Linked DNA regions of Homo sapiens: region 1 is linked to region 2. Evidence: promoter capture Hi-C in human tissues and cell types (Jung and others, 2019). All regions are on one chromosome and are shown on one strand. Each heading gives the region's core, a stretch centred on a gene start or on the middle of the fragment in contact. The rest is flanking DNA. Distances are from core to core; before and after follow the strand shown. Region 1 overlaps ZBTB40 (zinc finger and BTB domain containing 40). Region 2 holds the start of C1QA (complement C1q A chain).

Region 1 (4,692 bases), core at 940-3,439, 150 kb after region 2:
GAACAAGACTCCGTCTCGAGAGAAAACAAAACAAAACAAAACGAAACAGATAATTATCGAAATGGTACGTCATTATTCCAATACTGCTTTTCTGCTCTGTAGTTCATGTTTGGACTTTCAATGTTCAAAAACACAGACACTTTTAAAAGAATGGCCCAGTACGGTACTGCACTGAATTTTGGTTTTCTACCTAACAGTGGTCTTTGATAAATTTATTAATCAAACATTAAAACTGATAAAGATCATTGAAAACAGAAGGATGGAATATAAAACAATGACTGTTACCTGGTTCTGTGCTTGTCTTCTTTGCCTCACTAAAGGTTTGCACAGCAGGGGAGGGGGAACAAGCTTCAGCTGTAGTAGGAGTCTCCGCTGGGGTTTCTGCATTCCTCTGGCTCTCCTGGGCTGTGGGAGAATTCACACTCATCTCTTGTGAAACTGAATGGGCTGCTTCCTCAGTCTCAGCTTTCACAGGGCCCCCTGGAGTGGCAGCAAGCTCTGGGGAAGAATGAGGCTCTCCAGCACCTTCAGATGAAAGGATTTCTACTTGAGGCTTCTCTGGTTCCTTTCTGAATGTCTCTGAGGATGGCGCAGAGACATCCCTTACCACCTGACCCTGAACCGAGCAGTTTACAAGGCTGGTCAGAAGATTTTTGCAGCTAACAGCTACATCAAACATCTGTAGACTGTCTGCTAAGGAGATGATTTTGGAGAAGTTGTGCTTGCCCACAGGTAGTTTGCCCGTGTACATCATTTCCAACAAGAGCGCAAACTCCTCGGGGCTCACCACAGATGCATCGATGGAGATGGTATCTGTGTTATCCAGCAGGGTTTTGAACAGGAGGCTGGCAGCAGCCAGGACAAGCTTGTGAGCCCTGAAGTAAATGGTACCAATGGAGATGGTGCAATCACAGAACTGCTGCTCCTTGCACAGAGTGTACAGCTGCTGCAGCAGCTGCCGGCTGTAGTTGGGGAGCTCCATTGCGTCAACTCTGCCCCAAGAACTGCTCTTCCTCTCCTCTCCTTAGAGTTGGCTTTGGGAGGACAGGCCCTAGAGAAACCCACAAAATACCAGGTTAAAACTTCAAAAAACCATAGGGAAAGGCCTTGAATGAAACGCTAAATGAACAGAAAGGCATTTCACTCATTCATCCAACAAATATTGCTTAATAGGAAGGGACAGTATGCCAGGTATACTAAATCAGTAATGATCATTATCATTATGTGTTTAAATATATGAAAGAGACTGTGCATAATGCTTTGTATGGACGGTCTCATTTGATTCTCACAACGATTCAGTGGAAAAGATATTATTTCCTCCCCATTTTACAGATGAGATTGGAGCTTTGAAGGACCAAGAGAATCACCCTAAGGAAAAACAGCCATCTCACTGACTTCGAAGCTCTAACTACACTACCATTCCTGCTCCCAAAAAGCTCTCAGCCACCTAGAGGAGATAAATATGTAGACGGAGACTTACAATACAATGTCCTTGGCTTATTCAGTCTAGCCCTAACAAGGGACGGAGGTCATCATTCTCTTCCTCTGAAAATACATTTTTCACTTGGTTCTCCTTCTCACTCACTAGCCATGCCTTCCCAGTCTCCTTGGTTGAGTCCTCTGCATCAGCGCAGCCTTTAAAGCTTGGAGTGCTCGAGGACCCAGTCATCCCGCCTCTTACCTTCCCTCTCTTCTGATTCCATAGCTTTGAAATATCATCTAAATGCTGACAGCTTTCAGATTTATGTCTCTGGCTCAGCCTGTTCCTCTGAACTCCTGATGTAGACCTCCAACTACCTATTCAACATCTCCAACTGGAACCTGGTTTCTGAAACGTAACATATCCAAAACTCTCCTGCCACTTTCCCACCTCACAGCAATTCTGTCCTTCTAGTTCTTCAGACTAAAACCAAGTCATCCTTGACTTTTGCTTTTTCTCATACGCTATATCCAATCCTTTATAAATCCTGTTGGCTCTACCTTCAAAACATATCCAAAATCCAACCGCTAATTTCCTTCACTGGCTCCTCTCTAGTCAGTCCAAACTGCCATCATCTCTTACCTAGATTACTGCAGCAACCTCCTAATTAGCCTCCATGCCTCCATCCTCCCCTACTGCTACCCCTACCTCATCCTATCTTCAACCCAGTAGGCGGAGCAATCTACTTAACACACAGCCAGATCTTGCTGCTGCTTTGCACAAAAAGCCTTAAATGGCTTCCAGTCTTAGAGTAAAAGTCAAAGTTCTTACAATGGCCTAGCAAGCCTTTAATCATGATCTGGCTGTCATCGGCTCCTAACCTCATCTTTTACCACTCACTCTCCCCCTCACCCATTCTGCTCTGAGAACTCTGCCTTCCTTGCTGACCTGGGAATATACTAAGCATGCTCTGCGTTCTCTGACTCAGGGCTGAGCATGCTTAGTATATCTGTGCCTGGCTGGCTGGCTCATTTCTACCAGCCCTTTGCTCAGAGGCCATGTTAGCAGTAAGGCCTTTCCTGACCATGTTTTTTCAACAAGCAACCTCCCCTCCAACCTCAGAACATCCCGCTCCTTCGTCTGCTTTGTTTTTCAGCATAGCACTTATCGCCTACTGACATACTATATTTTTATTTGTTATTATCTATCTTCCTTCACTAGAATGTAAGCTCCATTAGGGTAAGAACTTAATTTTATCACCTGCTGTATCCCAGTGCTTAAAATTCTGCTTAACACAAATACTGTTGATTACTTGGTAGAATGAATAAATAACTAAAAGGCAACATAATGATGGATTTGTACACACAAACACAGTTTGGGGGATAGGAGAGTCCAGGAGTTAGAGTAAAGCTTTGAGGGAAAAACAGCTGACCTGTGTCTTAAAAGATACGGACGCACAGATGAGGTAAAAAGAATGGGAGGAAAAGGCAATCCTGGCAGGGACGCCTGCATGAGGCATGCAGATAAGAAAACATCCCGTGGTAGCAGGCAGGAGGATTAGGAACTGAGATTATTACTGGAACATAAAGCAGGGAATAGGAGTGTTAAGAGATGAATCTGGAGAGGCAGGCAGGGGTGTTGGCCACAGAGGGATATATAGGCCATGCTTACGAGCTTGGAGGTTATCCTAAAAGCAATGAGCAGCCATTGAGGCATTTGAAAGGCTTTAAGCAGCAAAGTCATGTGGTCAGATATGCATTTTAAATATACCACCTAAGTAACATGTGTACAGAATTTGAGGGGGATAATGCTGGAGACGGGCTCTATTATTGCAGGAGATCAGGAGAAAATCAATGAGGGCTTCAAGCAGGAGAACTGGTAATAGGAGAGAGCCAAAAAAACATTGCAAAGTATAGCTGTCATGACTTAGGGACTGAATGGATGTGAAGGACAGAGAGAAACAATTCCCAGGTTCCTGGCTTGGTGAATGGGTGGATGATAAGATGATCCAGATAATACAAGAACAGACAGTTTAGGGGAAGAGACATCTAGTTCAGTTTTGGGTTTGAGGATCTTATCTTTGAGGATGTTTGAGGAAATTATGTAATCTCACTTGTAAAAGAAAAAAGTACGCTAAGAAAAGGGCGGAAAGACATATGTCAAAAAACCAGTAATTGCTTTTGTTAGAGGATTATGGATGATTCTCTTTCCACTCCACCATTTCTACATTTACTGACACTGAAATTGACAGATAAAAATATAAATAAAAATATTTCAGAGTTCCAGTTTCCATTCTGGTATGTCAGGAGCTTAGAAGTCACCACGTCCTAAAAGCAAACAGACTGAACAAACTGAAAAATCAACAACTCTTCTTTAATTCGTCAGAAAAGAAAGGTCACAGGGCAAATCACTGTTCCTAAAATTAGAGACAGACAGGCAGACACAGAGAATCACAACTTATTGAACAAAAAACACAAGCCAGGCGCAGCAGCTCACGCTTGTAATCCCAGCACTTTGGGAGGCTGAGGCGGGCGGATCACTTGAGGTCAGGAGTTCGAGACCAGCCTGGTCAACATGGCAAAACCTCGTCTCTACTAAAATTACACAAATTAGTCAGGCATGGTGGCGGGCACCTGGAACCCCAGCTATTCAGAGGCTGAGGCAGGAGAATAACTTGAACCTAGGAGGCAGAGGCTGCAGTGAGCCCAGATCATGCCACTGTACTCCAGCCTGGGCAACAGAGGGAGACTCCGTCTCAAAAAACAAAACAAAACAAAACAAAACAAAACAAAAAAAATGTATGAACAAACGCCTCTGTAGGAACAAGTGCCAGGTTAAGAAAACCTGAACTGCAATCGAATCACTGGAGGCTCAGTGTGCACAACTCTGAGAGTTAAAAACTCTGGGGGGGACTCAGTCATAGGGGTCCCCCAACACTTCTGTGAGCTTTACCTCCTAGAGCTCTAACAAGTCCTCACAACGAATAGTGAAGAAAAATCCCCTCTTGCTTCCAGCAGCGGGAGAGGGAAAAGGAACCATTTTGAAATCTGCCAGAGCACTCTGTTTTTAACAAGGCCTGCCTTCAAGAAAACTATTTTACAAGAGCCTAACTGGCTACAGTTTTCTCAGAGCCTAACCTACCTGGAAAAAAACAAATACCCAACTCCAGCTCCCTCTAGCCATCCTGTACCATCTAAGGAGCAAAAAAGCCTGAGAGCACTTGGGAAGTTCACAGCCCAGGGGCACAAGCTCACCAAAAGATTGAGACTGAA
Region 2 (4,685 bases), core at 1-2,500:
AGACGGACTCCTGATTCTCAGTGCCACCCCAAGCCTTCACCCTGGAGGCCAAGTCAGGCCAAGGTCCAAGGGGCTGGGTCCCGAGGAAGGGTGCTTACCCGGCTCCCCTTGCTCCCCCTTGAGGCCTGGCCGCCCCCGTCTGCCAGGTCTTCCTGCCTCCCCTTTCTTCCCGTCTGGTGCTCGGCACAAGTCCTCGGTCACCATAGAGGCCAGCGATATGGCCAGCACACAGAGCACCAGCCATCCCCGGGGACCCTCCATGATGCCTCTGTGGAGACACGGGAGGGCCTGGGCAGGTTGGACATCACACTCACACCCAGCTCCCACCCTTGAGTCCCATGCACACAATGATATATGCACAGTCCTCCCCAAGTGCACATGCACCCTCTGGGGCTCTCAATGTCCACTCTCAATCCAGCCCCAGGACCCCACGCATATACACAGAACCACAAACTCACACACATCCACACATGCAACAGAGCACACCCACATCTTCACACACTCACACAAACACAGCTCTCATCCACGCACCTACAAAACACAGTAGGCAAACTCAGAAATCCACTATACCCCCCTAGACACACAACTGATACCCAAATAGACCCTGTCCCTCACTTGCACGGACACACACATTCATACACTCCCACAGGTAATCGATTTCATTGAACAAATATGTATTGAGCGCCTGCTCCTTATTTAATTAACACTGGCTCACCCAGATGGTGGAGCTCTGCATACACACAGGAATTCACAAACGCCCAAAGCGACACCTGCTCACTCTTCTGCATGCTCAGCGCCTTTCAGCATCCACCTGAGCATGGGTGACTGGCTGCCCCTACAGTCCCCTCTGCTGGGTCCCACTGCCAGCTCTAGCACCCCAGGCTTTTCCTGGTTTCTTATGTGTTATGGGGCCAGGACCCAGGAACCCTGGTCTTACCCTTCAGTTGTTAGGTCTAACTCATCGCCTCTCACCCTCCCCCAAGCCCTGGCTCAAGGAGTTAAGGTCCCTCCACTCACCCATTCTGGGTCCTGGATCAGTGCTGCACCCCCATCCCTGTCCTAGAATCAGGCACAGTTATTTCCCTCCCTCCCTGCCTCAGCTGCCCAGCCTCCTGGGCCAGCTCCCCTGGGTCCCAGAACTCTGCAGCCCCCTCCCTCTGGGACTCTGGCCTCACCTGCCTCCTGTTGTCAACTCCAACTGGATGCTCCTGCCCTCCGCCCAGGGACCCTGTGGGCTGCCCAGCAGGAGTGGCTCCAGGCTGTGGCCAAGTTTCACATCCCTTCCTACTTCCCCTTCTTCAGACCTGCCCCCTGAACTTCCCCAGTGGCCAGAAGCTCACCAGGGACATTTCAAGCAGACTTCAGCAAGACTGGGACATTGGGCGTCCTGCCCCAGCAACAGCTGGTGTGGGAGTGGGGGCAGTGAGGCCAGTGCCTGTGAGGATGTGGGGTGGAGGCCGTGCAGGGTGAGGTTCTGAGAACCAGCGAAGCACAGAACACCAGAGCGGAAGGAATCTTTAAAAAAATCTGTCCCTTGTAGGACTTTTCATGATTATGAAAGTGACATGCAATTCATTGCCAAAAGCTTGGAAAATACAAAGAAGAAAGAACAGTGCATTGGTGAGAAGGAAGCACAGCAATCTGTTTCTAGACTTGCTGCTTCCTAGTTGCATGTCTTTGGGAAATTACTTGACCTCCTGAGCCCTCAGTTTTATCTGTACACTGGGAACGGGGTCCTATATCATCTGATTATTATAACATTTTAATGACTTGCACATACAAAACACTTGGCACATGGTGAACACTTAGTCACTAGCTTTTGCCAACATTTAAAAAAACAGCAAGTCTAGGTGCTTTGGCTCACGCCTGTAATCCCAGCATTTTGGGAGGTCAAGGCAGGCGGATCACTTGAGGTCAGGAGTTCGAGACCAGCCTGGCCAACATGGTGAAACTCCATCTCTACTAAAAATTTAAAAAATAGCCAGGTGTGGTAGCATGCACCTGTGTAGTCCCAGCTATTTGGGAGGCTGAGCTGGGAGGATTGCTAGAGCCCAGGAGGTTGAGGCTGCAGTGAGCTTTGATCTTACCACTGCACTCCTGCCTGGGAGACAGAACAAGACCCCATCTCAAAAAAAAAAAAAAAAAAAAGAGATGGCAATGGCGGGCCGTCTGGAATGGCTGCTGTCATCACACTGGCTGCAGCAGGGAGGCACGGCCAGGGCTGCATGCTCCATGTAGCCAGTGGGAGCTGGGGACAGTGGGAACCCCGCCCTCCTGGGAACCACTGCAGCTGCCAAACCACAGCTGATCCTGCTTCATGGAGCAGGTGGGGGCCCCCGCCATCCCCCATGCAGCTGCAGCTGCCTAAACTGCAGCTGTGGACCCAGGCATCCCTGCAATCTTGGGGGCCCGGGAAGGCCCCCCGCCCCACCCTTCAGGCTCAGAAGTGTCTGCTCCCACTGCCTGGCTTCTCCCTCCTCTTGGCGCCCACTCTGATCTTAGAGCAAAGTTGGTGCTGAGCCTGGGTGCTGTCGCAGCCTGGCTGGGTGTGGGCATGCTTGGGGCAGTGCTGACACACTAGACCCCTGCTGCCTTGGCCCCCTCTGGACTTTGGGCACTGACTAGCATGGAAGGAAAGCCAAGGGGAAACTGAGGGCAGCTCGGCACTGGCCTGCAGACGCTCCTTGGCATGAACAGCCTGGGCACCATGAACAGCAGCAGGAGACAGACAGGCTCCTGGGTGGAAGGGGATGGGTCCCTGGTGAGGCCCTACCTTCAAGCCAGGGAGGGCCTCAAGGCTGGGGGCCAGGCTGCCAGTCCCACACACCAGAGTGGGAACTTATGGTGTATTTTCTGGGCTTGCCTATAGCCACCCATGGACCAATCAGTATGCACTTCCTCCTCTCTGAGGCTCATGAAAGCTTCAGGCTCAGCCAGAGCTGGGCAGACATTGGATGACCAGCTGCCGAGAGGAGCTACCCGCTCCAGGGCCTCCTCTCTGCTGAGAGCTGCAGAGATGGCAGAACAACTTGCCTGCAGAAAGGAGCTTCCCATTCCAGGGTCTTCCCTCTTCTGAGAGCTGGAAAGTCGACAGGATGACCTGCCTGCAGAGAGGAGCTTCCCATTCCAGGGTCTCCTCTCTGCTAGCAGCTGAACACTCATCAGGACACCCTGGCTGTGGAAAGGAGCTGCCCCCTGAGGGAGGCTCTGCAGGAGGCTGAGCTGTTCTATCGCTCAGTAAAGCTCCTCTTCGTCTTGCTCACTCCCCACTTGTCTGCATACCTCATTCTTCCTGGTTGCAGGATAAGAACTTGGGACCCATCAAATGGTGGGGCTGAAAGAGCTGTAACACAAACAAGGCTGAAACATGCCCCTTGCTTGCCATGATGCAGGTGAAGGGAAGGAAAGAAGAGCTGCGGCCCTCTGGGGAACCCAGACCTGGGAGCTCCCCAAGCTGGAGCTGTGACTCCCTTTTCGGGGCCCTGTGGTTCCTGGCATCTCGAAGCTTCTGGGTGCCACCGTGTTCCCCGGTGCCAGCTGTGGAAGCTGCTTGTGGTGTACTTGGTCTAGCCACAACCTCTCAGAGAGCTGGCGCCCATGCTGGCACCTGGAGCTGCTCACCCCGCTGCAGCAGCCGGCATGTCTGACTGTGTGCAGTGGCCAGACCCCATGTTCACTCACACACCCTTCACTGTTCCATGCCTGACTTGCCCTGGGCAGATGTGGAACCCAGGCTGGTAATGTGAGCTGAGTGCTGCCTGCCAGGAGGAGTGAGTGAAACAAGCCCAGTGGGCCTGAGCAAAACTTGGGCAAAGGTGCCACCAGCCACAGAGGTTTCCGGCCAGAAAATGACACCCCAAAGATCCTGTAACACCATCTCAAAAAAAAACAAAAAACAAAACCCAGCAACAAAAGCCTGTGAATTCTACCATCTAGAGACAATTGCTGCTAGTGTTTGAACAGATCATCTAGCCTTACTCACCTTAACTGATGGGATGCTCATTACCTGTCAGCACGGCACACTGCATCATTGTCAGCTTGGACCCTGAGAATGCTTTTCTTTAGATAGAGAGGCTCTGTCTCTCCCAGACTGGAGACCAATGTGTTCAGGCCTGGGCTGACCACATCTGTCTGCTTCTTCTCATGAGCATGTTTTTGTTTGTTTGTTTGTTTTCTGAAAATTTTGCCAGAGGCAGGAGGAGGAAAAGAGGAGGAGGAGGGAGGAGATAAGGGAAGGCTGTTGAAGTGGGCAGATGAAGGATGGTCTAGAGCCAGGGTTTTTGAGCTTTGGGGACTTCTTTTTCATTTGCAATCTTGTGTGGCATCTGATGTATGTCAAACAGATAAAAATGGGGATACTGGCTTGAAGGGTGGGGGCCCAGAGCTCCCCCTGACAGCCCCTCCCATGCTCCCTGGATTCAGAAAGTTCGTGGAGCTGGAATCTCATCTGCTCAGCCCATACCTAACTCACAGTGTGACCCTGGGCAAGTTATCTCATCTTTCTGAACCCCACTTTCTCCATCTACCAAGATGAGGGAGTGGGTGGGAGGTGGGAAGGCTGCCCCAAATGGCCTCTAACATCCCTTCCAGTCTCCTCCTCCTCCTCCTCCTTCTTCTTCTTTTGAGACAGAGTCTCATTTTTTTGCCCAGGTGGGAGTGTAGTGGCTGGATCTCAGCTCACTGCA

The links. The method cuts DNA at HindIII sites, captures the fragments that hold promoters and counts their contacts. A contact is called where the count stands out against the background at its distance.
Region 1: a contact is called between a fragment that was not itself captured here and the fragment with the promoter of C1QA in region 2, in 2 of the 25 tissues and cell types used here (adrenal gland and mesenchymal stem cells).

The regions. Positions count from the first base shown.
Region 1 is chr1:22,486,239-22,490,930 of GRCh38, reverse strand. ZBTB40 (zinc finger and BTB domain containing 40) reads right to left here. Exons shown (of 18, transcript NM_014870.4): 2 at 286-1,051. The coding sequence starts at 982. Among named protein-coding and RNA genes, the nearest start is that of ZBTB40, 37 kb to the right of the region's middle. The HindIII fragment of the contact is 3,163 bases long and covers 608-3,770 here.
Region 2 is chr1:22,633,193-22,637,877 of GRCh38, reverse strand. C1QA (complement C1q A chain) reads right to left here and starts at 1,250. Exons shown (of 3, transcript NM_015991.4): 1 at 1,176-1,250; 2 at 99-268. The coding sequence starts at 261. MIR6127 (microRNA 6127) reads left to right here and starts at 4,512; the gene lies at 4,512-4,620. The HindIII fragment of the contact is 11,741 bases long and covers 1-2,253 here.